Regions from separate parts of the Homo sapiens genome. Here regions 1, 2, 3, 5 and 6 are each linked to region 4. Evidence: promoter capture Hi-C in 16 types of primary human blood cells and fetal thymus (Javierre and others, 2016). All regions are on one chromosome and are shown on one strand. The core of a region is centred on a gene start or on the middle of the fragment in contact, and the rest is flanking DNA. Distances in the headings are between cores, read along the strand shown.

Region 1 (4,482 bases), core at 1,828-4,327, 240 kb before region 4:
ATTAGATTGTTAAGCATCCTACTTCTGTATGGGGGAACAATGATGGTCTCACTCTCGCATACCTGCAAGAAGGTGAAAACTAGAAACTTCTCCATCCCATACCTCAATTTAGATGACCAAGTCCCCACTATCTTAGAGGAAAGAAACACCTCTCAACTTTTTATCACTTGCTGAATCACTGTCTTAAAGAACCCTACACCTTCTGCTAAAAACTCTCATGAAAAAGAAAAAATGTCACAGGATACATAACTCAGTACCTTAAAGAACACAATAAAAAATCAACTCTCTTTCAGACAGATTTAATGGAGGGGAAAAAAAAATGTTTTTAAAGAGGAGAGAGGGCCGGGTGTGGTGGCTCATGCCTGTAATCCCAGCACTTTAGGAGGCCGAGGCGGGCTGGTCACTTGAGGTCAGGAGTTCGAGACAAGCCTGGCCAACATGGCGAAACCCCATCTCTACTAAAAATACTAAAAGAATTAGCGGGGTGTTGCAGTGCATGCCTGTAATCCCAGCTACTCAGGAGGCTGAGGCAGGAGATCACTTGAACCTAGCAAGCAGAGGTTGCAGTAAACTGAGATCTGCGCCACTGCACTCCAGCCTGGGCAACAGAATGATCGTCTCAAAAAAAAGAGACAGAAAGACAAAAATTCTTAAGGACATATTGCAAAGGAATGATCTGAGAACAAAAGCCACAGGTTGCATGGGAACTTCCTGAGAACAGTAACCACTGATCTGGATGAGATACCAACTTGGGGGCTCAAAAATAACTGTTCAGGGCCAGGTGCAGTGGCTCATGCCTACAATCCCAGCACTGTGCAAGGCCAAGGTGGCAGGACTGCTTGAGCCCAGGAGTTTGAGACCAGCCTGGGTAACATAGTGAGACCCCTGTCTCTACAAAAAATGTAAAAATTAGCTAGGCATGGTGGTACACACCTGTGGTCCCAGCTACTTGGGAAGCTGAGGTGGAAGGATTGCTTTAGAGCCCAGGAGGTCAAGGCAGCAGTGAGCTGTGTTCATGCCACTGCACTCCAGCCTGGGCAACAGAGTGACATCCTGTCTCAAAAACAAAAACAAAAACAAAATTGTTCAGCAACTTTTTTGCCAAAAGCAAAAATTTAAAAAATAACCCCAAGGGACATGTGGCAGAAGAATTCAAAATTATTTCAAAATAGTGGTTCTCTACCCTGGGAACACATTAGAATCACCCACTTGTAAAAGTATTTGTAATATATCAATATCTGGGTCTCACAGGTCATAACTGGGCCTACAGTAATGTTACTGTAAGTGAATAATTAATTTGGCAAGCTTTGAGACATTAGAGAAAATAAGATTGAAACTCTAAATTATCTGGAAATTTACAAAAGTATAAAGATTCCCTATGAAAACCTGTGGATACAAACAAAACTGACTGCAAGGCATTTACAGTTTCAAATACTATTTTTAACAAGCACAATCTAAATTAACTAAAGTAAGCATTCAATACACAAGAGCTTGGTGAATAAAAATGACAAGTGGTAGTGAGAAGTGAATGTTAATGCATAAGGCTTATTTAGGCATGGTTTCCTCCCGATATGTGAGTACTGCCTACTTTTCACTTTAGTGTCCAATATTGACATAATACTTCAAAGAGGCTACACTGAGTAACAAGGAGCCTATCTATTTTTTTGGGATTTTTTTTGTGTAAGTGTACCTACTATATTGCTTATTTACTGACACATTACCCTTTGATTTCAGGCTATTTCATAAATTAAAAATAAACGACATCAGTGAAGCCATGAATTCCAACATAACATCACATCTGAAGGTAATTTCTAAAAGTTTTATGTGTTTCTAGGTGGCAGGAGCTGTGAAAAAAGTGCAAATATAGAGGAGGAAAGAACAGAATTCTGAACTGCATTAATCATTTAAGCACATATCCTCAATAAAATGTATTCCATAAATCAAACACCTTGTACTAGAACTATTTAAGGGGTGCTATAAAGAGCAATGTGAAAGATATTACAAGAATGAAAAAATATAATGGATGGCCTTACACTAGTAAACCGGATACAATCAGGGAAATGGATTCTTTTCTAGAAATGTTACCAAAATGGATTAAAAATAGAAACTCCACTAAAGAAGATGGGCAAGCACACCAATTATAAACTTAGCACAATAAATTAGCACAACCCTAATACTGAAATCCAAAGATAGTACAAAAAAGAAAACTACAAAATCATATCCTTAAAAAGTATAAACTCACAAAACCTGAAATATTAACAAATCACATATGAAAGTATAGTTAAAAGAGTAAGGATCAAAGTCAGAGTCATTCCAAAGCTCAAAAATGGTTCTGCATTTCAGAATGGGGAGGACTATCAGCATGGCTTATATAAAATTAAGAGAAAATTCTTAAGATTATATTGACGTCAAAAAATAAAGTGTAGAAGCCCTTCATTATTAAAACACTAAAACAAACTGGGGGGTAAGGGAAGAAACTTCTAACTTAGTTATATACTGCAACAAAAAACTAGTTTTTCAGTTGTGCTTGATTCTGTAACAATGTCATTAAAAGTCTCTCCTCTTGATCTTACCTTTAGAACCAAAAGCAAAATCTCCAGAATTACTGGAAGCCAAGTCTGCAAATGAGAGCCCTGTGCTACTTCCAAATCCAAATGAAACTATCTTGCTTTCCCCTGGCAAAAGAAAAAAAGAACAATTTACTATTTAATTTGTGCTGAATATCAAAGCTTTACCCCAGGACCTAGAGAGAACAGTAGAGACTTGTATACTCTGGGATGAGGGGAGTTATTTAAATTCTGTCAAGTTACAAAATACATCCAATTCTGAGCTACTTCAGTATTACTAATTTTACAGGTGCTATTCACAAAGAATACTACAATACTACACCAAATGCATGCCAAAAATTATTTTTTATAAATGAGAAGGAGAGCTATCTATATTAAGCCAGATATTAAACTACAGTTTCTGCTCTATGGAGCCTACTATACTCTAAAGCAAGCATTCAGTCAAAGGCAGGGTTTTAGGAAACATCTGTATAAAAACTTTTTGTGTTCTGTACTATAAATAAGCTCATAAAAACCAAATGTCTCATTTACACTTCGTCATAAGGACTTTTGCGGTCTTCTCTTAATTCTGCTAATGTGAAGCTGCATGATCTCTGAAAGCCCCATGCCTTATTTTCCTCATATGAAAATGTATGAGGTTTTAGGTATGAAGTCGTCTTCCTCTTTTAGCACATTAAGACTCTCAAATGCCTATAAATGTAATATTTGTGACACTGAAGGCTATTTTTAAAAAGTAGGTAAGGTACACAAAGCAATACAACTTAAACTTCCCACTTCCATCCCCAAAATCGAAATGAAAAAGAGAGAAAGCAATACCAAATATGTTACTGTAACTGAATAATTAATTTAACAAGCTTTAAAAGTATTAGAGAAAATAAGAAACATTTAAGTAGTACCATAAAACTTTCTTAAATCCGTAATATTTCTACAATTCCTTCATAATTAAAACACTTTGAATATGCTTGAGTGATAATATAATTCAAACAATATTTAAATGAAAACACTATCACAAAGGAAATTACATGTAACAACACTATTGTCTTTTAAACTCAGGAAAATAGGTCAGAATCATAATGCTTTGTATTCCCTAATAACCACAACTCTATCAATAAAAACATGTTTATTTGTTGGCAACACAGTATAATTTTTCTGGTTATTATTACTACTACTACTAAGATGCCCCTTTATACATATCAAAATGTGTTTTAAAGGGAGTTTTCAGGATCAGCCTTTAAAAGTCTATCTTCTCAAATATAAGGTGTCCCTTATGTAACACATGATAAACATATATCAAGATTTACCTTGGCTTGTAGAATCTGTATCAATTTCCTTTCTAGTTGACAAATCTACAGGTTTGTCCATAGTTTCAGAGGAAACAGATGGTGAACTAATGGATTTGGTAATAGAATCAGGTTCTTCAGATTTACAGAAAGAAGGTACCATCACTTCAGTCCCACCTGTATATACACTGTCAGTTGTGCTAGTTATTTCTTCTGTCTGAGATTTCTGCAAAGAGGAAGTCACAAAATACTATGCCACTTAAATGCTAATTTACAAAACAGATTATATAATCTATTTCAAAGGGAATTGAGAACTTGGGCTTCTGGAGAAGATAGAATAAACACACTTCACCCTATCTCTCCTCAAAACCTATAACTAAATGCCTACACTGAAACATACAGAGCACCTCTAAGAAGCCTTAGAAAGGTGGATAAAAACAGGAAGAATAAGGATCTTGGGACCAGAGAGATAATCTGGAGGTTAAGATCCACACGGAGTTTTTCTGCCACTCCTGTAACCCAGCCTGGGTGCTACAGCAGCCCAAAAAAACTGGAACTGCCAATGGCACAATGTCAGCAAAAAAAGAGACTCTACTTTCTTCTCAAGTGCACAGAAGACATTCACCAAGACAGAC
Region 2 (4,253 bases), core at 726-3,225, 160 kb after region 4:
ACAAGGAACCACATGGGTTATTAATTGCACTGAAAACAAAATGTTCTTTGGCTACATTGTAACTGGTCAATGTGAGTGATGAGGTAGTCTTTATCACTTGTCTTGACATCTAGCTTTACTTTTCAGAGCCCTGCAGAAAGTACAATACCAGTCAGACCTTTTCATAGTCATTTAATTGCTCATTCTGAACCACTACAAAGTGACTTTTTCCAGCCTGCAATGGTACTTAAAACGTAGCAACAAAAAATACTTCACCATAAAAATACATGTGTAGTGGCCAGGCATGGTGGCTCACGCCTGTAATCCCAGCACTTTGGGAGGCCGAAATGGGTGGATCATGAGGTCAGGAGATCGAGACCATCTTGGCTAACATGGTGAACCACCCCCACTACTAAAAATACAAAAAGAAATTAGCTGGGCATGGTGGTGAGCACCTGTAGTTCCAGCTACTCGGGGGGAGGCTGAGGCAGGAGAATGGCATGAACCCAGGAGGTGGAGCTTGCAGTGAGCTGAGATCGCGCCACTGCACTCCAGCCTGGGTGACAGAGCGAGACTGTGTCTAAAAAACAACAACAAAACAAAACAAAACAAAACAAAAACAAAAAAAGTGTAGAAAAGCTTGATGAATGTATGCTGAAATGTTAAAGTTATCTCTAGAAGATGGGATGACATATGACTTAATATACATCTGGAATCTTCAATAAGTATATATTATTTTATAATATGAAAGTTATTTAAAAATTAGAACAGTTTATAATTTAAATATAATGGGAAACTTTTGGAGATTCAAAGTGTCTCAAAGTTGATTTTCTTCTAACATCTTAGTGAGAGATGAATTATTATGAGGTCACTATAATATATCAGGAAACATGAGCTAGGAAAGTTCTGTAATTTTGTTCTGGACAAATGAATGAGAGATCAGAAGAGTCTGGTGTTCGGATTCCTACCTCTGTGTTAATTGTATCTCTTTGAGGAGGGGTTGCAATGTTGCAGGTGTCTTCCTAAACTCTTTACATGTAATAATTCATTTACTGTCCACAACATCTACTTGAAGTGGATACTAATATTCTTCCCATTTTATATAAGATACAACAGAAGAACAGAGAGGTTGAGTAACTTGTCCAAGGTAATACACCCCATCAGTGACATTACCGGTATTTGAATGCAGGAAATTTGGCCACTGCCCTAAGTATCAACAGCTGCCTTTCACAAAGATTCTTACTTCTTGATTTGACCTCTGTGATGACTAAGGATGCTCACAAATGACATGTATGCTAAAAGCTGACAGAATAACAATATGTTATAATATCATGGAGTCCACCTATAACAGTTTTTATAGCCATTTTATTGAGAGCCCTAGGCCTCCAGGTATTGTCTTCCAGAGGTTACTGTGCATTGGGATGGGAGGAGGAACAGGGCAGGGAATGGACAGGGATAGTGTCATTGGGTAAGATCATATACTTAATATTGTTATTTATTATGTATTACATGAGGTTCAGTTATTTGTTCACATTGCTGCCTCGCACCACTCTGTCATAATCTTCACAAGGGCAACCACTATGATTTATTTCTTTCTGCTTCCTCATTACCTTAGCATGTACTTGATACATAGTAGACAATATGGCTAAGTATAAATGAAGGAGTGAGTTACATTCATACCTTTCTACCCTGTTGCCCTCAAAACAGACAAAGCATACTAAATGTAACGCCCCAGGTGACTCATCTCAAGCTTATGCTATATCAATATTTATAGGCCCCAGGTGACTCATCTCAAGCTTATGCTACACCAATATTTATTTTACAAACTGGTCTTCAAAGTAAAATCATTTTTAAATAAATAGAACTCCTTCTTTCTCTGCTCTTCCCCACCATCTTCAGAGGTATTGGAAGTGCAGAGAGCTCTGGCTGGAGCCACTGTCTGATTCTTTAGTTCAGACAAAATTTCCAGCGACACCGATGTTCTGAAGTCTAATTTTAAAATCTACACCTTCTCCCTGAACATTTAATCCAGAGGGAAAGTAATATGAAGAAGAGATAGAATTGACCATGTTTGTTTCAGACATACTCAATATTGCCCTAGGAGCTTCCAGCTTCTCTTGTTATTGAAGAATTTATGAGCCAGGTAATTGGGAATTGGTTGTTATATTAAAAGAAAAAAGCAAGATGTAAGCTTCATGGGGTGTGATCTCACTTATGTAAAAAATACGTAAGATGCTGAAAGGAAATTTACAAATAGAACATCTCTGGGTGCAGTTAGAGGTGGTTTTACATTTTAATAAATAATCATGGATTCATTTTAAACTTGGGGAGAATTAAGCTTCTGTTGTCATCTACTGCCACCTTCTTACTAATGTGCCAGGTGATGTTCAAGACAGTTTTTCATTACGGATAGAAACAAAAGAACTTCCCATCACATCCTTTGCACAGGACTTTCAGCTGGAGCTTTGTTTGTGAAATGTATTTATACCAAAGCCCCTGTCCTGTTCCCTAGAAAGACTACTGCTGTTGCCTGCAGACTCACCTTTCCATCATTCACTCATCAACACTTCCTGTGTACCTGATGTATGTACGGCAGGTACAGAGTGAATGCTACTGTGCTTTTCACTTGCTTCAAAATGGAAGACATCTGGAGAGCATCACCTACTGTGCATCGCTTGCTATTGCTGGGAAAGGATGCTTCAGAGTGTTCATGGTCCTAGATCAGGAAGTATATTATTCATCCTGTGATTATGGCAAAAAGATATAATATCATCATTGACATTTCTTATCTCATAAACTAGCTGGAATAGGGCAAGAGACTGTAAGATGGAAAAAGATATATATGAAATGGCATTATATTTAGTATGCTTTGTCTGTTTTGAGGGCAACAGGATAGAAAGGTATGAACGTAGAATGTAACTCATTCCTTCATTTATACCTAACCATATTGTTTACTATGTATCAAGTATATTCTAAGGTAATGAGGAAGCAGAAAAAAATAAGTCATAGTGGTTGCCCTTGTGAAGATTATGACAGAGCGGTGGGAGGCAGCAATGTGAACAAATAATTGAACCTCATGTAATAAATGGTAAATAATAATATTAAGTATATGATCTTACCCAATGACATCGAATTACCACAATGCAAAGAATTTTTGGTGCTCTCCCCTTAAATTACTTGGTAAATATGGTATCAACTCAAAATAAGAGGCATATATGGTTTAGGGAAGGCACTTTGTAAATTCAGAATTTGTGGAGTATTCAATTCTAATTGTTACACTAAGAAGGACATGACAAAAAAATAATGGGAAGTGTGCTGTAGGTTTTTCCTAGGAATAGGAATGGATATTTAGTTTTCCTGTATGTTGGGAAAGTTTTAAAACAATTGATTTCAGATTGCTTCAAAAAGAGTCAAGCTCTAATCTAGTTTTGGGGCAATGGATGCCACATGTTAGGTCAAAAAGGTAGAATATTAATGTGATCACTCAGGTGATCAAAGGATCTGTGCCGGCCTGTTGGAACTGGTGTGCCAGATCAACGTCCTGGGGAGAGGCAATGCTTTAAATTTGTACCAGCTGGCCATTCGCAGTGGCTTGTACCTGTAATCCCAGCACTTTGGTATGCTGAGGCGGGTGGATCACCTGAGGTCAGGAGTTCGAGACCAGCCTGACCAACATGGTAAAACCCGTCTCTACTAAAAATACAAAAATTAGCTGGTCATGGTGGCGCATGCCTGTAATCCCAGCTGCTCAGGAGGCTGAGACAGGAGAATTGCTTGAACCCAGGAGGCGGAGGTTGCAGTGAGCTGAGAGTGTGACACTGCACTCCAGCCTGGGCAACAGAGCAAGACTTTGTCTCAAAAAAACAAAAAAAGGTGTACCACAATATACCATTTACACTGTGATATTTGCCTATGTTCTAGTTCTTTCTTTGTTTAAATTCCACATCCATATAGAAAGACATGCCAAAAATAATACAGCAGCTACTATAGTGACTGAGATCCTGTTTTGCTTCCTGACATATGCTATTTTCATATGCTTCCTGACAATGCTTATGCATTTCTGACATTCATTGTATTTTTTCTTTTGGAATGTTATTTATAGAAAATTACAGCAGATACATAAGAGAAAAATGAGAAGTTTCCCATTCATTTTCATCACGCTTTATTCCTGATTATTTTTAAGGGTGAAGATATGATATTTACTAGTTCCAGTGCAAATAAACTTCTCACTGCTCTGGAAGAATTCCAGATGTACTCTGCTACATGATGATTCT
Region 3 (4,655 bases), core at 2,156-4,655, 180 kb after region 4:
TGTTCAGATGGCTTCAATAGAGAATTCTACCAAATATTCACAGAATAAACACCAATTCTTCTCAAACTCTTCCAAAAATTAGAAAGAGAGAGAACACTTTCTACTTCATTCTATAAGGCCAACATTACCCTAATACCAAAGCCAGAGAAATACATAACGTGCAAAGAAAACTATAGACCAATATTCCTTATTAATATAAATGCAAAATCCTCAAAAAAAAAAAAAATAAACTGAATCCAGCAGCACAGAGAAATGATTATACACCATGATGAAGTGGGATTTATTCCAGGAATGCAGGATTGATTCAACATATCAAAATCAATGTAATGTACAATATTAACAGAATTATTAATAATTTGAAAACACGTAATTTTCTTAATCAATGTAGAAAAAGCAATTGACAAAATCCAACATCTTTTCATGAACAAAATAAAACAAATTAGTAATAGAAGATGTTCTAGACTGAATAATGGTCTTCTTAAAGATTTCCATGTTCTAATCTCTGGAACCTGAAAATACTACCTTGTGTGCCAAAAAGGAGTTTGAAGATGTGATTAAATTAAGGATCTTGAGAAGATTTTCCTGGATTCTGGGTGGTCACTAAGTGCAATCACATGTATCCTTATAAGAGGGAGACAGAGATTTGTCCACAGAAAATAAGAAGGCAGTGTGACCATGGAGGCAGATTAGAGTGATGTGGCTACAAGACAAGGTATGCCAGTAGCTACCACAAGCTAGAAGAGGCAAGGTACAAATTGTCTCCTAGGGCCTCTGGAGGGAGCCCAGCCCTGTTGCAACCTTGATCTCGGCCCAGTGAAACTGATTTTACATGTCTGGCCTCTGTAAAAGAGTAAATATGTATTGTTTTCAGCCACCAAGTTTGTGTTAATTTGTTGAGGGTTTTGCAGCCATAGGAAATGAATGCAGATCTGTTAGTCACATTACAAAATCCAACATATTTCCATGATAAAAACACTCACCCATGTAGGAATAGAAGGGAACTTGTTGATTCTTATAAAGGGCACTTATGAAAGTCCCACAGGTAACATTATACTTATGGTGAAAGAGAGATATTTGCTTTTAAAATCTGGAATGAGGCAAGGATGTCTGCTCTCACTATTTCTAATCAACATTGCACTTGAGGCCCTAGTCACAAAACTTGCATAAGAAAAAGATATCCAGATTGGAAGGGAGGAAGTATAACTATCTCTATTTGCATATGACATGATCTTATATCGTCATGAGCCATATGACATTTTGGTCAACAATGGACTGCATATATGAGAGTGGTTCCATAAGATTATAATGGAGCTATGTAATGGAGAAGGATATACCATCCAGGTTTATGTAAGTACACTCTATGATGTTCACTCAGTGACAAAATTGTCTAATGACACATTTCTCAGACATTTCCCCATCATTATGCAAGGCACGACTGTATACAGAAAACCCTAATGAATCCCTTCAGAACTATTAGAGCTAATAAATAAATTTAGCAAAGTTGCAGATTACATGATCAATATACAAAAATTCATATTTCTTTACACTAATAATGAACAATCCAAAAATTCAATTGAGAAAATAATTCCATTTATTATAGCATTGAAAAGAATAAATATTAAGAAATGAAACCATAAAACATTGTTGGCCAGGTGCGGTGGCTCACGCCTGTAATCCCAGCACTTTGGGAGGCTGAGGCGGGCGCATCACGAGGTCAGGGGATCGAGACCATCCTGGCTAACATGGTGAAACCCCGTCTCTACTAAAAATACAAAAAATTAGCCGGTCCTGGTGGCGGGAGCCTGTAGTTCCAGCTACTCAGGAGGCTGAGGCAGGAGAATCACTTGAACCCGGGAGGCGCAGGTTGCAGTGAGCCGAGATTGAGCCACTGCAGTCCAGCCTGGTGACAGAGCGAGACTCCATCTCAAAAAAAAAAAAAGAAAAGACCTCTAAGAAGAGCCTGTGGTTTGTGTGTGAGGATGGGTCAGCAGAGCAACTGCACTTCAGCACTTTCTCCTGACGAAGTTTGATCACTCCTTTATCTCTGCATTTTCTCCTTAATGGCTATCATCATACCAAATTTGCCTTTCTCTAACTTAAGTTGAGAAAGTTTTTCAAAACTAACTTTATTAAAGGGAAACAAAAATCTGAAATAAAATAAAATAAAGTACATGGAAACGGGTGATTTTATTAATCTGAAGATTATTATTCAGTAGTGTGCCTCCACTGGCTGGCACAATTCCCTGGCTCCAAGGCTTTGGATCCCCTTTCCTGCATGGGTCCTGTTAAAGTCTGTGTCCTTCTAGATAGGATTTATGCATTTCAATCACGAACTCTGAGCCACATAGTTTGTTAGAGTCGCAACCCCAATGCCTGCAGGGGCAGGGCAGTAAGCAGGTGGAGTGAACTTGTTGGCATCTGGTGAGTGCCAGCCCCATTTATAGCAGGAGGCCATGGAGCTCTGGGTGCCATTGGTGCCAGAAATTGGGAGTTTATGGAACATCTCCTGACTTTTACATGTTGACAACTAATTCAAAATTTTTTAAAAACAGCACATCTGCAAGCCATATTCAACCTAAAAGCCACTAGTTGGAAACCTCTGCTCTAAGTGGAGAGCTAGGTGGAATTTTGTCTTTGAGACCAAGGCATTTTCCCTAGGTGGAGTTTAGCCTGGCTCCCACAGCCATGATGTTACTCCAAGCAGTATTAGTTTGCTATTTCTGGGTCCAGAGTTTGAGCTCCTTAAGGGCAGAATCTAGAAGCTTCTCACCTTTATACTCTCCTCAGCTCCTAAGGCATATGCTTATTTATCGAAATCATGAAATTGTGCATTAAGAAACAGACCCAAAACGTGGTGAGAAGACTCATATTCATTTCTCTGTAAGGAGAGACCAGCAAATTGCCACATGCTCCCCCTTCCTGATGTTTTCAAAACAAAACAGTTATATGTGAGAATGTGTGTTGCAATTCCAAAGTTCTGTTTTAAGACAATCCTTAGTAACACAGGACTTGGTGTCAAAAGATTTTAGTACTCACATTGGGTTACGTAAAATTAGAATTCTGCATGTTGCCTAACCATTTCAATGCCCAGTGATCAGAGAGAAAATAAAAGCAAGAACGAGACTTATAGTTCATTCTGTGTCTCCCCACAGAAGCACCTCGAGGGTAGGGGCTGTGTCTGATTCCTCCTTTCCTCTCCAGTATCTGGCACTAGGTCTACAGAGTCAGCTGTGAACCTGTAATACTCATTATTAAAAGTATTAATACTTTTAATACTCATTATTAATACTATTAATATTTTTAGTTCTCGTTATTAGAAGTATTATCTTAGGCTAGTGTCCTTAATCTCTTTTTCACCTGCCTCACAGCATCCATGGCCATAGAAGCCTCCGATTGATCTCAAAGCCCCCCCATCTGACTTTGTATAGATCTTCAAAGTCCCCCCATCTGACTTTGTATAGATCTAAAGATGCCACAGTGTGGGTAGGCTGCCATGACCAGGGGACTCCCAACACACAGAAGACCACAGTCCTTTCCTTAGATCAGCTTTAATCAGAAGTTAGCTCAGAGGTGGAGCCAAATGTGGATAAGACAGCCCCACCTTCCAGGTTAAGACAGGTTTTACATTTTGCTGACTGGTCTGCTCCTTGCTCCCTGGACGTGCTCGGTCCCCAGAGGGACACAGGGAGGGGTGAAGAAAACCTGACTTACTCGGGACCTGTTGGTGCCAACCTGATCTTTGGATACTCTGAGAACAGCTTATAATGTCCATTTCTGAGTTAAAGTTTACAATTATATAAATAGCAAGAACAAATTTTACTGCCTATTCAGACTTGTAATTAGATTTTGCAAAGAATTTGGGCATCCCTCAAACAGGAAAGCTATCATTTTATTGACTTACCGTGAAGTGAGAACAGTCTATGACTAGGGTCAGGGGTCAGTATCTCTTGGCAGATTCCTCCCCTAGAAGCAACCTATAGCATCAGCCTATCCACACACTTTAACATTCCTAAATCTATACAAAATTAGATAGGGAGAGCAAGCTTCAAGATTAATATAAAAAAAGGTAGGAATCTGAGGAAGTTAGGTAGGTGATGACTTTTCAGACCCAACCTTTCATGTCCTACTGATATTTATTTAAAGCAGTACCATGTGCCTGAGATGGAGGTGTTTGTGGTTGGGCAGGCTGGCTTTGCTAATTTTAAATCCACCAAAATATATCATTTTGGCATTGACAGGTGTATTAGTCTGTTCTCAGGCTCCTATAAGGACATACCTGAGACTGGGTGATTTATAAAGAAAAGAGGTTTAACTGACTCACAGTTCCGCATGGCTGGGGAGGCCTCAGCAAATTTACAATCATGGTGGAAAGGGAAGCAAACATATCCTTCTTCACATGATGGCAGCAAAAGGAAGTGCTGAGAAAAAGGGGAAAAGCCCCTTAGAAAACCATCAGATCCCATGAGAACTCACTATGATGAGAACAGCATGGAGGCAACCACCCATGATTCCATTACCTGCCACCGGGTGCGTCCCACAACATGTGGGGATTATGGGAAGTACAATTCAAGATGAGATTTGGGTGGGGACACAGTCAAACCATATCAACAGGAGCAACCAATTTCTCTGACGTGGCAGTAACTCATTACACCCAT
Region 4 (4,408 bases), core at 911-3,410:
CACTCCAGTCTGGGTGACTAAGCAAGACACTGTCTCAAAAACAACAACAAACACCTGTCTATTTGTTCGTAGTAGCTTTCTTAATAGCCCAAAACTAACAGCCTGAATGTCCTTCAAACATGTGAACAGTTAAACTGCTGTACATCCATACCATGGAGCACTACTGAGCAACAAAAAGGAACAAACTATGACATGCACAACAAATAGCGTATGATTCCACTTACATGAGATATGAGGTACCAGCAGTAGTCAAAGTCATAGACAGAAATTAAAATGATGGCTGCCAGGGACTGGCGGGAGGAGGGGAATGGAGAATTATTGTTTAATAGGTACAGAGTTTCAGTTTTGTAAGATAAAGATTTCTGGACATGTATGATGGTTACGGATGCACAATAATTTGAATGAACTTATTACTCTCCCTCCAAAAAGTAAATTACTAATGGTAAATTCAGGATGGGAAGGGGATAGGATGCGGAGAGACACTGGACCAGAGAGGTTTGAAGGTCTTAAAAGGAAACTATTATCTCCTTTATTACACTACATATCCGTTATTCTTAATATCTCACAAATACTTTAAATTTTATATCAACTTACTAGTCAATACTTTTTTTTAAGGAAAAAAGTCCATGATGAAGGAGTACAAATTATTGTTATCAAATCTTGAGCTTTGACTCTTTTTTGTTACTTGTGACCAAATGGCAGGCGTGCACTTCTGTAATAGAGCGATGAGCTGAATTAACTTGCTTGTGTCATGAAATACCATTTTTACGGGAAAGAACAACTGACAAACTAGGGTTATTTAAACCTGTATTGCCGGACACTTCCTTGAAACTGAACAAAGTGAGTCTGTCACTTTGAGGAAAACAATTGACAATATTTTGCTCCCAATGATAAAAAGCAAGCTTTCAACCGAAAATGAGAATTTTGGAAAACTTGTAAACACCACCTTGTATCTGACGGCTTTTAACATAAAGACTTTCCTAATGAAATCAATAGCGATGGTAACGAATGTTATTCGGCGCTATTAATGAAATGCGTCAGCTTGAGATCTGCCAAACTCAGTGAGCCAATATCTTCCAAACGACAAATATATGGTGTTACAATGGGTAACAGCTGCATTCAAACTGCAAGACAGACCAAGGAATTTTAACGTAACTGTGTGCAAAGGCCACTGACAGGAGCTTTAGCTGCATTCAAACTGCAAGACAGACCAAGGAATTTTAACGAAACTGTGTGAAAAGTCCGCTGACAGTAGCTTCAGATTCCACGTCCAAACCAGCCTTTGAGAAACTTCCACTTACGTAGTTTTGGTGTAGTAATAAAGAATACCCATAATTATCTGAAACAGCTATTAAGACAGTACTCACTTTTCCAACTACACATCTGTGTAAGATCAGATTTTCTTCATATAAAAACATACCGCAACAGACTGAACTGCAAAGGAGATGGGAGAACGTAGTTGTCTCTACTAAGTCAGACAACTCAAGAGATTCGCAAACTGTAAAGGACGCCAGTCGTCCCACGAACTCTTTTGTTTTAGCAAAACCCTATGTTGCATAAAAATGTGGTATGTACGTTAACATACCACGGATTTATTCAATGAGTTAATAGTAACTTCAGTGTCTCGGTTTTCCTTTCTAGTACAGTCTATGGAGATAGCCACCATTCCAGGTCCTCTAGTCCCAAGAGGGGTCCTGAGACCAAGACGTCTGCGACCCGCTGATCCCTACTGCTAGAAGATAAATGATTAGCTCGGCAAATACTGATTTGTCTTATGGAACTCTCGGAGCAGCGGGGCGGCGTCAGCGCCTGTGCCACCGCGGACACCCGGGAGTGAACAGCAGCCGTCTCCTCCGCGGGCCCGGACGCAGCCACGCCGCCACCCGAGCGCTGGGGGTCGGGGCTCCGGCCGACCGGGGGAGGCCGCGGGGAAAGCCCGGCCGCCCGCCCGCGCCAGGCCCGGCCCGGCCCGGCCCGAAGGCCCGCCGGGAGCTGCGGGGCGGACGTGGCGGGGGCCGCGCGGTGCGGCCCGTACCTGTGGGTCATCCCGGCCGCCACGCCCAGCATCTCTCCGCTTTCGGCCGCCGCCGTCTCTCAGCCCCTCGTCTCCCGGCGCCGCTCCAGCCGCGTCCTAGTCCCTCGCCGCCGCGGCCGGCTACTGGCGGGCCCGGAGCAGGAAGGGGAGGAAGGCCAGGGGCCGGCCGCGCGGGGGCGCGGGAGGGGGGGGAAGGCGAGGCGGGCCGCGCGGGAAGGCGGGGGAGGGGCGGGAGCGGCTGGGCAAGGAGGGGCGGGGACTGGCGGGGCGGGCGCCGAAGGGCGCGGACTGGAGAGGTAGGCGCGGGGGGGCGGGGCGTTGCGGGGCGGGGCGCGCATCAGACCCCGCCCCAACCCGTGGCTCGGGCCCGCCCCCATTTCAGCACCCCAGGCTAGTCTGGGAGGCTGGCGCAAACGCAGCGGGTGGCTGGGGTAGGGGCTCATTGGGAGCCCACGGAGCGCGGCGGCGGCTCGGGGGCCGAGTTCCCTACAACAAGGATGGCGGTGACGGGCGCAGGGAGCGGGGCCCGGCTCTCCTTGCCTCGAGGCTCCTCTGATTCCACTCGCGTGGCTGCGCGGCCCTGGCAGCGGCCTTCGTCCCGGGGGTGGGAGCTACACAGGGTTCCGCCCCGTCCTGGCGAGGACGCCTGAGGGGGCTCTGTGGTAAGGCTCTGTCGGGCAGGCCGGGCTTCCGGGAGGACCTGGTCTGGATCGGTCACCGCTGGGTGCCTGAGCTCCGCATGGAGCCTGCAGCCTTTGTTTAACTTGTGAGTTAAGAAAAGTTAACCTTTCTTGGAGAGTTTCCAGTCTTGCCTCTGCATCCTGTTCTTCCTTGCTAGCTCTCATTTTCTTCACCCATTCCGTCTATCAAAACCTGAAATTTTGGGGCCGGCGCAGTGGCTCACGCCTGTAATCCCAGCACTTTGGGAGGCTGAGGCAGGCGGATCACCTGAGGTCAGGAGTTCGAGACCAGCCTGACCAACATGGAGAAACCCCGTCTCTACTAAAAATACAAAATTAGCCGGGCGTGGTGGTGGCACATGCCTGTAATCCCAGCTACTCGAGAGGCTGAGGCAGGAGAATCGCTTGAACTTGGGAGGCGGAGCTTGTGGTGAGCTGGGAGATCGCGCCACTGCACTCCAGCCTAGGTAACAGGCTCCGTCCCAAAAAAAAAAAAAAAAAAAAGTGAAATCTCCAAAGGATTTAATAGATTTAATAGATAAGACAAGTTATTCATCCTGGGCATAAATGATCTCTCTCAGGATACCTGATTCTGTAACTATAGCTACTCTCTAGTAATAGAATGAAAACTTTGGTCTCCTGCCAGTCGAGGCATGTCGGAGGAAAACACTGGATCTATTTGATGTCCTCACATGAAAGTAAATTCCAAACAAAGCAAATAGTTAAATGTTCAAAAAACAAAAAAAAAAAAAAAAAAAAAGAGAGAGGTTATGAAAATACCAGAAGAAAACAAGGGAAAAAAACAAAAGTAAGGTTGGAGTGGTGAGAGACTTTTCAAAGAGCATATAAACCATAAAATTAAAAATTGATAAATGTAGGCCGGGCACGGTGACTCACGCGTGTAATCCCAGCACTTGGAGAGGCTGAGGTGAGTGGATCACCTGAGGTCAGGAGTTTGAGACCAGCCTGACCAACATGGTGAAACCCCGTCTCTAATAAAAATACAAAAATTTCACCGGTTGTGGTGGCGGGGTTCCTGTAATCCCAGCTACTTGGGAGGCTGAGGCAGGAGAATTACTTGAACCTGGGAGACAGAGGTTGCAGTGAGCCGAGATCGCGCCATTGCAGTCCAGCCTGGGCGACAGAGCAAGACTCTGTCTCTAAATAAATAAATAAAAATTGATAAATGTAACTACATAGAAATCTAAATTTTCTGCATAGCAAATAAATATAACAAACCCCAACCAAGAAAAATATTTGTAAAATGTATGACAAAAAGTTCTAAATTATTAAAAAAGTTCTAATTATTAAAAAAATCAGTACAAAAATGTTCAACTCAGAGAAAAACAGGTTTCTACAGAAAAATACAAATGATTTCTTAAAGTATCATAAAACAAAAATAAAATACAATTTTTCACAAATGCAAAGATGAAAAGTTTGACTATATATTGTTTTGATGAGGATATAGGGAAACCCTTTTTTCCTCCCCTAGAGGAGGCCTCTCTATGTTACCCACACTGGTCTTGAACTCTTGGACTTCAACTATCCTTTTGAATAGCAGGGTTTACGAGTGCACGTCAGCATGCCTGGCTAATTTATTGTTGATAGGAGTATAAATCCATACACGCTTTGTAAAGAACAAGTGGGCAATAGCTATCAATGTAAAATTCAGCTCTTCTTTGACCCAAGATAT
Region 5 (4,734 bases), core at 96-2,595, 180 kb before region 4:
CGTTTTGGTCACTTGTTCTAAATTATAAGTGCGCAATGCATTGGAAGAAAAAAAGCACTCAGGCCAATTTGGTGAACGTGTAAATTGGAACAAAGTTTCTGGAGATGACTGGTTAAATACGTTGCATCGGACATGTGTGAATACTAAAGCATACATTTTTAAATTCATATCTTATTAAATGAGGGCCAGGCGTGGTGGCTCACGCCTGTAATCCCAGCACTTTGAGAGGCCACGGCGGGCGGATCATGAGGTCAGGAAATCGAGACCATCCTGGCTAGCACAGGGAAACCCCATCTCTACCAAAAATACAAAAAATTAGCCGGCCGTGGTGTCGGACGCCTGTAGTCCCAGCTACTCCGGAGGCTAAGGCAGGAGAATCGCTTGAACCCGGGAGGCGGAGGTTGCAGTGAGCCGAGATTGCGCCGTCTGGGCGACAGAGGGAGACTCCGTCTGAATTTAAAAAAAAAAAAAAAGGGAGATTTAGAACTGCATAATGAAAAAGACCACAAATATTAAGTTTTGGACAATTACAATTTTTTAAACAGTCATCTCGGCGGGGGATTGGTTCCAGAACCACCGTCTTATGCCAAAATCCACGCATTCCGCCGGGCGCTGTGGTTCACGCCTGTAATCCCAGCACTTTGGGAGGCCGAGGCGGGCGGATCACCTGAGGTCAGGAGTTCGAAACCAGCCTGGCCAACATGGCGAAAGCCCATCTCTACTAAAAATACAAAAAATTACCTGGGCGTGGAGGTGGGCCCCTATAATCCCAGCTACTCGGGAGGCTGAGGCACGAGAATCGCTTGAAACTGAGAGGCGAGGGTTACAGTGAGCTGAGATCGCGCCACTGCACTCAAGCCTGGGCGAGAGTAAGACTTCCTAAAAAAAAAAAGAAGAAGAAGAAGTCCGCGCATTCTCAAATCCCGCAGTCAGTCCTGCGGGTGGAACACTTAGAGGAAAAGTCAGACCTCTCTATATGCAGGCCCCTCCAATACTGTATTTTCTGTCGGCTTATAAGCGGGCCCAGGCAGTTCAAACCCATGTTATTCAAGGGTCAACTGTGTATATAGGAATAGCCATTCGCCTGGCACAGTGGCTTAAGCTGGTAGCCCCAGCACTTTGGGAGGTCGAGGCGGGAGGATCCCTCGAGTCCAGGAGTTCCAGGTTACAATGAACTGTGATAGCGCCACTGCATTCCATCCTGGGCACCAGAGTGAGACCCTTGTCTCAAAAAAAAAAAAAAAAAGGAAAAGGAATAGCCCCCCCAAATCTATATATATTTCACTAGCAGAATAACAGAACATACCAAAATTTAACAGTAATAATGTAAAGATTTTGAGCCGTCTGTATTTTCCAAATCTTCAAAAATGTCTATTTTGGGAATTTGGATATTAAAATCTTACTTTTAAAACAAAATTTAACAAAACATTTTTAATAGTGAGAACCTTTTAGATTTTAAAAGCTCACATTTGTGTAAACATTACAGTCTGAATTATGTGGACAAATATCAAATGCGTTGACATTTTTAACTGGAAATTTGGGCTATTTTGGTTGTGGATAATTTTTTATCCTTTTTGTTTTTCCATATTTTCTAAATTTTGATATAATGAACAAGTATTGCCTTTCTAAAAAAGGAAAAACAGCATTTTGTTTTATTTCAACAATATTGGATGTGAATAAAAGAAAAGAAAAAGATGATTCTGAGCTTACCAGTGTGTGTGACCCACATTAACAGAAATGACATGTAAAGAAAATCTAGTTTGGAGTGGAAAATCCTATTTTAGGTAGTTGATTTCTTTCACTTGAGGTACCATTTATATATCCATGTGGGGATAGCCTAGTAGGAAGATGAAATGGTAGGACAGAGATCTTGATGGAAGTCAGTAGTTGCGGCACAGTTCTGAGGCCCAGCTACTCCAAAGGCAGAGGGGGAAACATCCCTTTAGCCCAGGATTGGAGACTGCAATGAGTTATGTTCATGCCTTTGCACTCCAGCCTGTGGAAGAGAATGAGATTCCTATCTCTAAAACGAAAAGAGGGCCAGGCACGATGGCTCACGCCTGTAATCCCAGCACACTGGGAGGCCCAGATGGGCTGATTGCTTGAGGCCAGGAGTTCAAGGCCAGCCTGGCCAACGTGTTGAAACCCTATCTCTACTAAAAATGCAAAAATTAACTGGGTATGGTGGTGCATGCCTGTAATCCCAGCTTCTTTGGATGGCTGAGGCACCTGAATTGCTTGAACCTGGGAGGTGGAGGTTGCAGTGAGCTGAGATCGTGCCAGTGCACTCTAGCCTGGGCAACAGAGCAGACTCTGTCTCAAAATAATAATAATAATAATATTTAATTAATTTAAAAATAAAAACCAAAAGAGAAGATCTGATGGACTTAAAAGTCATATATCTCAGGTGATAGGTGAAACCACAAGTTTGCCTTGAAAAGTGTGTTGATAACAATAGCCATAGCTAACAAGTACTTGCTGTGTTCCAAAGCTCTTTCTGTTAGCACTTCATTTGTATTAATATCATTCTTCCACCAACTTTGTAAGGGTACTGTTATTATCCTCAGTTTTTACAGATAAGGAAAGCAAAAGACAGCCAGGCACCATGGCTCATGCCTGTAATCCAAAACTTTGGGAGGCTGAGGTGGGAGGATCACTTGAGCCCAGTAGTTCAAGACCTGCCTGGGCAACATAGCAACACCCTGTGCTTACAAAAAAAAAGAAATTAAAAACTAGCCAGGCATGGTGGTGCCTGCCAGTAGTCCCAGCTATTTGGGAGACTGAAGCAGGAGGATCTCTTGAGGCTAGGTGTTGGAGGCTGCAGTGAGCTATGTTCACTCCACTGCACTCCAGCTTAGGTGACAGAGAAAGACCCTGTCTCCAAAAAAAAAAAAAAAAAAAGGAAACCAAGAGAATGAGCACTGAAGCAACTTGCCCAAACATACTCACCTAGTAAAAATGGTATCATTAATCCATTTATGTTGAATATATCGAAAAGGAGTGCCCAAAGAGAGAACCTTCTTTTTCCTTCTTTCTTTTTTTTTTTTTTTTGAGACGGAGTTTCACTCTGTGGTCCAGGTTGGACTGCAGTGGCACAATCTCGGCTCACTGCAACCTCTGCCTCCCAGGTTCAAGCAATTCTTGTGCCTCAGCCTCCTGAGTAGCTGGGATTACAGGTACATGCCATCACACCCGGGTTATTGTTGTATTTTTAGTAGAGACGGGGTTTCACCGTGTTGGACAGGCTGGTCTTGAACTCCTGGCCTCCAGTGATCCATCTGCCTCGGCCTCCCAAAGTGCTCGGATACAGGTGCCCGGCATCCACCGCGCCCAGCATCCAAAGAGAGAATCTTCTTGAGGAACTCAAAAGACTTTTCTCTTTTGGATAAGCAGTTCATATTTCTGCATTTATTAGGGATTTTCACATTTTACTTCATTTTACACTACATTTTTTTTTTGTTCAGTGGTATAACATTTTCACCAAGGCACTGAAAATTCCATTTGCATTAGTGTCCAATGTCATATATTCCCTACCATGTTGCAAATACAGTTCATTTGTCCAGCTTTATTGAGGTATAATTCACAAATAAAAATTGTATACATTTACTAGGTACAACATGATGTTTTGCTGTCCAAGCATACCTCATTTTATCGCACTACATTTTATTGTACTTCACAGATACTATGTTTTTTACAAATTGAAAGTTTATGCCCACCCTGTGTCAAACAAATCTTTCTGCATCATTTTTCTTTTTTGAGACAGAGTCTCACACTGCCACCCAGGCTGGAGTACAGTGGCAAGATCTCAGCTCACTGCAACCTCCTGTGGCAGGCCAGGTCTCACTAATGCAGACTTTCATAACAACTGTTTCAGTAATTACTGAATGAAGTTAAATACTAAAAGCCAGTGCCCTTATACAAAGGCTGGGATGTAACAAAAGGCCATCAAAACTTTTGCCTAGGCCTGTCCTGGGCCTTAAAGCATGACACAATAATGAAGGAATTTTTTTTTTTTTTTGAGATGGAGTCTTCCTCTGTCACCCAGGCTAGAGTGTAGCAGCAGGATCTTGGCTCGCTGCAACCTCTGCCTCCCAGGTTCAAGTGATTCTCCTGCCTCAGCCTCCTGAGTAGCTGGGATTACAGGCATGCATGACCACGCCCGGCTAATTTTTGTATTTTTAGTAGAGATGGGCTTTCACCATGTTGGCCAGGCTGGTCTCGATCTCTTGACCTCGTGATCCACCCACCTTAGCTTCCCAAAGTGTTTGGATTACAGGCATGAGCCACCGCACCCAGCCCATAACGAAGGAGTTCTCAACAGGACCCATTTAGGATTAAACCAGTTTTATTGCGGGTCTGAAGAAACTCCCCAGGTCTCCACAGACAAGTTTATTGGGGGTCTGAAAGAACTCCCCAAACCTCTGTGACTTAGCGGGAGGCAAGATAAGGGTAATCACCCCGGCACCGAGGGGGAGCTTGCAGTGAGCTGAGATTGCGCCATTGAACCCCAGCCTGGGGGACAGAGTGAGACTCCGTCTCAAAAAAAAAAAAATCACCCCAACATCTAGACCAATTAGATTAAGTAAATTTACTGAGGCTCCAGAGGGAGGTCTTCAGGACTCAGACCTTAGTTATATATTAAAAGAAGTTAATCACTTACGTCTTTAGATGAATGCACACTTACACGTAGACATATAACTTAGAAGGTAGATAAGCTCTGGAAAACTTTGTAAT
Region 6 (4,882 bases), core at 2,137-4,636, 150 kb before region 4:
GGGCGCCTGTAATCCCAGCTACTCAGGAGGCTGAGGCAGGAGAATTACTTGAACCTGGGAGGCGGAAGTTGCCGTGAGCCAAGATCGTGCCATTGCACTCCAGCCTGGGCCAAAGTGCGAGACTACGTGTCAAAAAAAAAAAAAAAAAAAAAATAGTGACTTACAAGGATGCCTTCTTTCTTCACTTTTATTCAACACTGTACTGGATGTTCTAGCCAGGGCAATTAGGCAAGAAATGCAAACAAAAAGTATTGAAATAGGAATAGAATAAATAAAACTATCTCTATTCTAGATGACATGATCTTATATACAGAAAACCCTAATGAAACCTCAAAAAAAAAAAGACCTAAACCATCAGTGATAATAAATGAGTTCAAAGAGATTGTACCATACAAGGTCAATTAAAAAAAATGAGTTGCCTACTTATACACTAGCAATGAACAATTCAAGTAAAATTAAGTAAACAATTCCATTTATAATATTATCAAAAATAATAAAATAATTATGAATAAATTTAATCCAAAAGTGTAAGACTTGTAGACTGGAAACTACACAACACTGTTGAAAGAAATTAAAGAGGAGCTAAATCAATGGAAAGACATCCTGTGTTCATTAATTGGATGTAAACATGTCTACACAAAAACTTGTATACAGGCCAGGCATGGTGGCTCACGCCTGTAATCCCAGCACTTTGGGAGTTTTCGATGGGAGGATCACTTGAGTCCAGGTATTTGAGACCAGCCTGTGCAACACAGCGAGACCCCCATCTCTACAAAAAAAGAAAAAACAAAAACAAAAGAAAACCTATACATAATGTTTATAGCAGTACTATTTTTATTAGTAAAAGGTGGAAACATCCAAATTTCCATCTACTGAAGATGGATTTTTAAAATGTGGTATTACTTGGCACAGACACACGTGCCTGTAGTCCCAGCTACTGGGGAGGTTGAGGCAGGAGGGTCGCTTGAGCCCGAGAGTTTGAAGCTGCAGTTTGAAGCTGCAGTGATGCTCCTTGATCCATGCAGGAGCTGTGATCAGGCCTGTGAAGAGCCACTAAACTCCAGCCTGGGCGACATAGTGAGATCTCTGTCTCAAAGAAAAATGTGGTATAGCCATACAATAGAATATTACTTTTGCATAAAAAATAATGAAGTACCAATGCATACTACAACATGAATCAGCCTTGAAAACATTATTCTAAATGAAAGGTGCCAATCACAAAACCTCATATATCATTTCATTTATATGAAATATCCAGAGTAGGCAAACTCAAAGACACAGAAAGTAGACTAGTGATTGCCAAGGGCTGGGCAGAGGGGAAATCTGGGAGTGCATGTGACTGCCAACCTGAATGGAGTCTCTTGTTGGGGTGATAGAGATATTTTGGAATTAGATTTTGGGGATGGCTGTAAAACATTGCAAATTTACTAAAAAAAAAATCATTGAATGAAATTAAATCCTATGGAGATGATAGGTATTTTCATTTTGGCCAGGCAATCTACCTGATTAGGTTCAAGCCACAAGTTCCCACCCCTCCATTCTGCAGTCTGGTTCCAAAGTCAGTTCAGTGTCCAAAGTCTTCACAGGACTATTCAGTTCTGTCTGACTTGTGCACCACCCAGTGGCCAGTTGTGTCTGTGGGTGATGGTCTCTCAGTTCAGCTGTCAATCTTTGGTGTGTTGAACAGGACGAGATCTATGCAGGAGCAGCTCAAGAATGAGCCCTGGGGTTTATAGACAGGTTAATGGGGTTGCTTCACTGATTAACTCTCTCTCAGCAATTACCCTGTTGCTTTCATTTGCTGAGGCTTCTCTTTTTAGTCTTCCAAGCAGAAAACAGGCTTTCGGTATCTGGCTCTACCATGCATTTCTACATCTGAAGCCAAGAAGTGGGAGGACTGAATTGGAAGAGAAGCAACATGGATTGTTTCTGCCCTCTTGGGACCACAGCTCTGTCAGTTGGAGAAGGTTCCCTCCTACATCTTGGCTCCTGGGCTCCTCTTGGGGCTGGTGCCAGTGCCACTGTGGGACTGCTTGTGGGCTGAGGTATGAGAGAACAGGGAAAAGAAAAATGGGGAGGAACGAACTTCTGGATTCCCTCGGAATGTTAGGAGACCCTTTTCCCGTTACTTGAGCCAGAAATAGAGGGCATCTTCTGGAGCTCTTTCTATCTGCACCCTGGTGCCCACTGCCAGGTTAGTCACGGGATGCCGTAGGGGAAACATGGTTATCTCACCACTGGTTTGGTGGTACTTCAAGTTCTGGTCTTCTTGGGAAAGCTGCCTGCAACTATTTAGTTTTCACTGTCTTCCAATAGCTGCTCCATGCATTCTGTACTGTCTCCTGGCTGGACTCCATGCAGGAAGCCTGTCTCCTCCACAGTGTGCACTCACTCAGGTCATTGTTCAGTTTTATTGTTGGCATTTGTTTGCTTTAATTTTTCAGAATGGCTTCTTAGAGGTCGCTTCTTGTTTGCATAGTTTGTCAAACATCAGTTAAAGCCAATATGGTTTCCACCATCTGCTGCTGGATCTATGTGCAATGGGGAGGAGGCACGCCCCGGGCCATTTGCAAGGGTGTTCCGGCTTTTACTTCCTAACACTGGCACCGGCACACACACAGGCTGTGTGCCCTGGGCATATGGACATGGCTTGGGCTTGCTCTAATCTCTGCCAGCTATGAGCCTTCAGTCCATTTGGGTAGTGTGAAGAGTTTACTAAGCTCCCTCTGGCTCTCCGACCTCCCGGAGCTCCCTCTTACATCCATGACTAATCTGCAGGTCATTTGCTCGTCTCCAAAGGCCCAGAGCCTCAGGCTAGGAGTCAGTGGCCTTTCTTCCTCCTGGTCACTGATATCACCACCTTAACTAGCCATGCTGCAAATCAAAACCTTCCTCACTCTTGCCTCCAGCCCCTGCAACGAGGTGGCAGGGGAGCTTATCTCCACAGGCTGCCCTGCTGGGGGCCGCTGTGTGTGTTATCAACAGCTGGGGTAAATGGGGGTAGCAGCCTGGGCAAAGATGCCACAGACACAGGCTGGTCTTATCCAAGGCTCACTTTAATTCTTCTTTTTTTTCTTTAGGGACAGGGTCTGTCTCACTCTGTTGCCCAGGTTGGAGTGCAGTGGTGTGATCACAGCTCACTGCAGCCTCAATCTCCTGGGCTCAAATGATTCTCCCGCCTTAGCCTCCCATGTAGCTGGGACCACAAGTGTGCACCACCATGCCTTTTTTGATTTTTTTTTTGTACAGACGGGGGTCTCACCAAGTTGCCCAGGCTGTTTTTGAACTCCTGAGCTCAAGTGGTCCTTCTGCTTCAGCCTCCCAAAGTGCTGGGATTACAGGCGTGAGCCACCGCGCCTGGCCAGCTTTCATTCTTAAACACATCCCCATTTGTGCGGTGCCTTTGGTAAAATTACAGAATGCTAAATGGTTTGTCCAGCTATACAGTTACATTTTGGAAAGATTTGTTGACCTCCTCACTTCATCATGCTAGAAGTGGGAACTTTGATTCTCTTTAAAGAATCTGAAGATGAAGGGAAGACCAAAGCATAATTTGAGAGAATGGCAAGACTGAGAAAGGTTTCTGTAGCATGGTGCATGCATGTGTGTGTGCGTGTGTAGGGAGAGGCAAAGGGTTCTGACAAGAGGAAGAGGCTGAGGAAGCAGGCTCATCTCCACAACGTGCTGCTGCCACCCAATCATAGGGTCTCTTGCAGCAATTCCAGTCCTGATCTCACAAACCTCATACCCTAACTACGGTCCCCCTAATTGGGGTCCCTCCTCAGAGCTTTCCTAAGGCTCCCTAACTTTTCCCCTCACCTCGGTTGAGGCCTCCATGGTTTGGACTTGCTGGTTTTGCCTTGCTCTTCCCTTGATAAATACACCATTTATTCCGGTTCAGCCCTTGGAACTTTAAACCTTAACCCAAGCCTCCTCCACCCCACTATATTAGCCCAAGCCTAGAGTATCAGATCTGGATATTTGGGTAAAGATGCAGACAAATTTTGAGTTGAAAAAGAAAGAACTTAATTGCACCATTGCACTCCAGCTGAGGGCAGGGCACAGTGGCTCATTGCCTGTAATCCCAGCACACCATTGCACTGCAACCTCTGCCCCCTGGATTCAAGTGATTCTACTGCCTCAGCCTCCCAAGTAGCTGGGACTACAGGTGCACACCACCACGCCCTATTAATTTTTGTATTTTTAATAGAGATGAGGTTTCACTGTGTTGGCCAGGCTGGTCTCAAACTCCTGACCTCAAGTGATCCACTGGCCTCGGCCTCCCAAAGTGCTGGGATTACAGGTGTGAGCCACTGTGCCTGGACTGTATCTCCTTCTTAATAATAATAATAATTAAAAAACCCAGCATTTACATTGAGTAGAGGGAAGACTACACCATTGTTCTAGATGGTTCAAAATTTGGCTTATCTATAGTAACCAGGTCATTTTATTCATTTACTTGTTTCTATTATATATTCATGAATACTTCAATTTTCATATGTATTTCACATATATACCATTCAAAATAAACAATATACAACAGGTTATTGTTAACAATTATAAACATTTATTAAGCACCAAGAATATACTGTGGTGGTTGCTATATGAAAACATAATTACCAATATAGTATCCCTGCCATTGAGCTTACAATCTAAAACGAAATACAAGGCTATGAGCCTATCTAAAAACTTCCTTAACTTAGAAATGGCTACTTTGGCAAATGAGTGAGGCAAAATGACCTATTATTCAGGTGCAGTGCTAATAAGGCTTTGAATATCATCCAAAGAATGTTTTACTTGTACCCATTGTTCCTGATTATGTTACACTTGCTAAGAAAAACAGTACTTAGAATTTTGGCATGAACAATGAATTATTTCAAAT

Evidence for each region. Contacts are between HindIII fragments. The CHiCAGO score rates a contact against its expected background, and 5 or more counts as called.
Region 1: a fragment that was not itself captured here is called in contact with the fragment with the promoter of LIMS1 in region 4 in 2 of 17 cell types (monocytes and total B cells); the score reaches 7.3 in monocytes.
Region 2: a contact is called between a fragment that was not itself captured here and the fragment with the promoter of LIMS1 in region 4, in 1 of 17 cell types (megakaryocytes). The highest score is 5.0, in megakaryocytes.
Region 3: a fragment that was not itself captured here is called in contact with the fragment with the promoter of LIMS1 in region 4 in 1 of 17 cell types (endothelial precursors); the score reaches 7.7 in endothelial precursors.
Region 5: a fragment that was not itself captured here is called in contact with the fragment with the promoter of LIMS1 in region 4 in 1 of 17 cell types (neutrophils); the score reaches 5.5 in neutrophils.
Region 6: a fragment that was not itself captured here is called in contact with the fragment with the promoter of LIMS1 in region 4 in 1 of 17 cell types (neutrophils); the score reaches 7.1 in neutrophils.

Annotation. Positions count from the first base shown.
Region 1 is chr2:108,775,323-108,779,804 of GRCh38, reverse strand. It overlaps RANBP2 (RAN binding protein 2), which reads right to left. Exons shown (of 29, transcript NM_006267.5): 24 at 3,869-4,073; 25 at 2,574-2,675. Among named protein-coding and RNA genes, the nearest start is that of CCDC138, 9.2 kb to the left of the region's middle. The HindIII fragment of the contact is 692 bases long and covers 2,732-3,423 here.
Region 2 is chr2:108,367,745-108,371,997 of GRCh38, reverse strand. It overlaps the pseudogene GMCL1P2. Among named protein-coding and RNA genes, the nearest start is that of SULT1C4, 8.1 kb to the left of the region's middle. The HindIII fragment of the contact is 395 bases long and covers 1,778-2,172 here.
Region 3 is chr2:108,352,677-108,357,331 of GRCh38, reverse strand. It overlaps the pseudogene SULT1C5P. Among named protein-coding and RNA genes, the nearest start is that of SULT1C4, 23 kb to the left of the region's middle. The HindIII fragment of the contact is 1,281 bases long and covers 2,765-4,045 here.
Region 4 is chr2:108,532,222-108,536,629 of GRCh38, reverse strand. It overlaps LIMS1 (LIM zinc finger domain containing 1), which reads right to left and starts at 2,160. Exons shown (of 10, transcript NM_001193483.3): 1 at 2,036-2,160. The coding sequence starts at 2,067. It overlaps GCC2-AS1 (GCC2 antisense RNA 1), which reads left to right and starts at 2,411. Exons shown (of 3, transcript NR_135290.1): 1 at 2,411-2,801. RefSeq lists silencers at 1,915-2,514, 3,003-3,297. The HindIII fragment of the contact is 7,547 bases long and covers 905-4,408 here.
Region 5 is chr2:108,714,515-108,719,248 of GRCh38, reverse strand. No RefSeq gene overlaps it. Among named protein-coding and RNA genes, the nearest start is that of RANBP2, 2.6 kb to the left of the region's middle. RefSeq lists an enhancer at 1-824. The HindIII fragment of the contact is 8,304 bases long and covers 1-4,734 here.
Region 6 is chr2:108,686,909-108,691,790 of GRCh38, reverse strand. LIMS1 (LIM zinc finger domain containing 1) reads right to left here. Exons shown (of 10, transcript NM_001193483.3): 10 at 4,545-4,882. Among named protein-coding and RNA genes, the nearest start is that of LIMS1-AS1, 11 kb to the right of the region's middle. The HindIII fragment of the contact is 7,259 bases long and covers 1-4,882 here.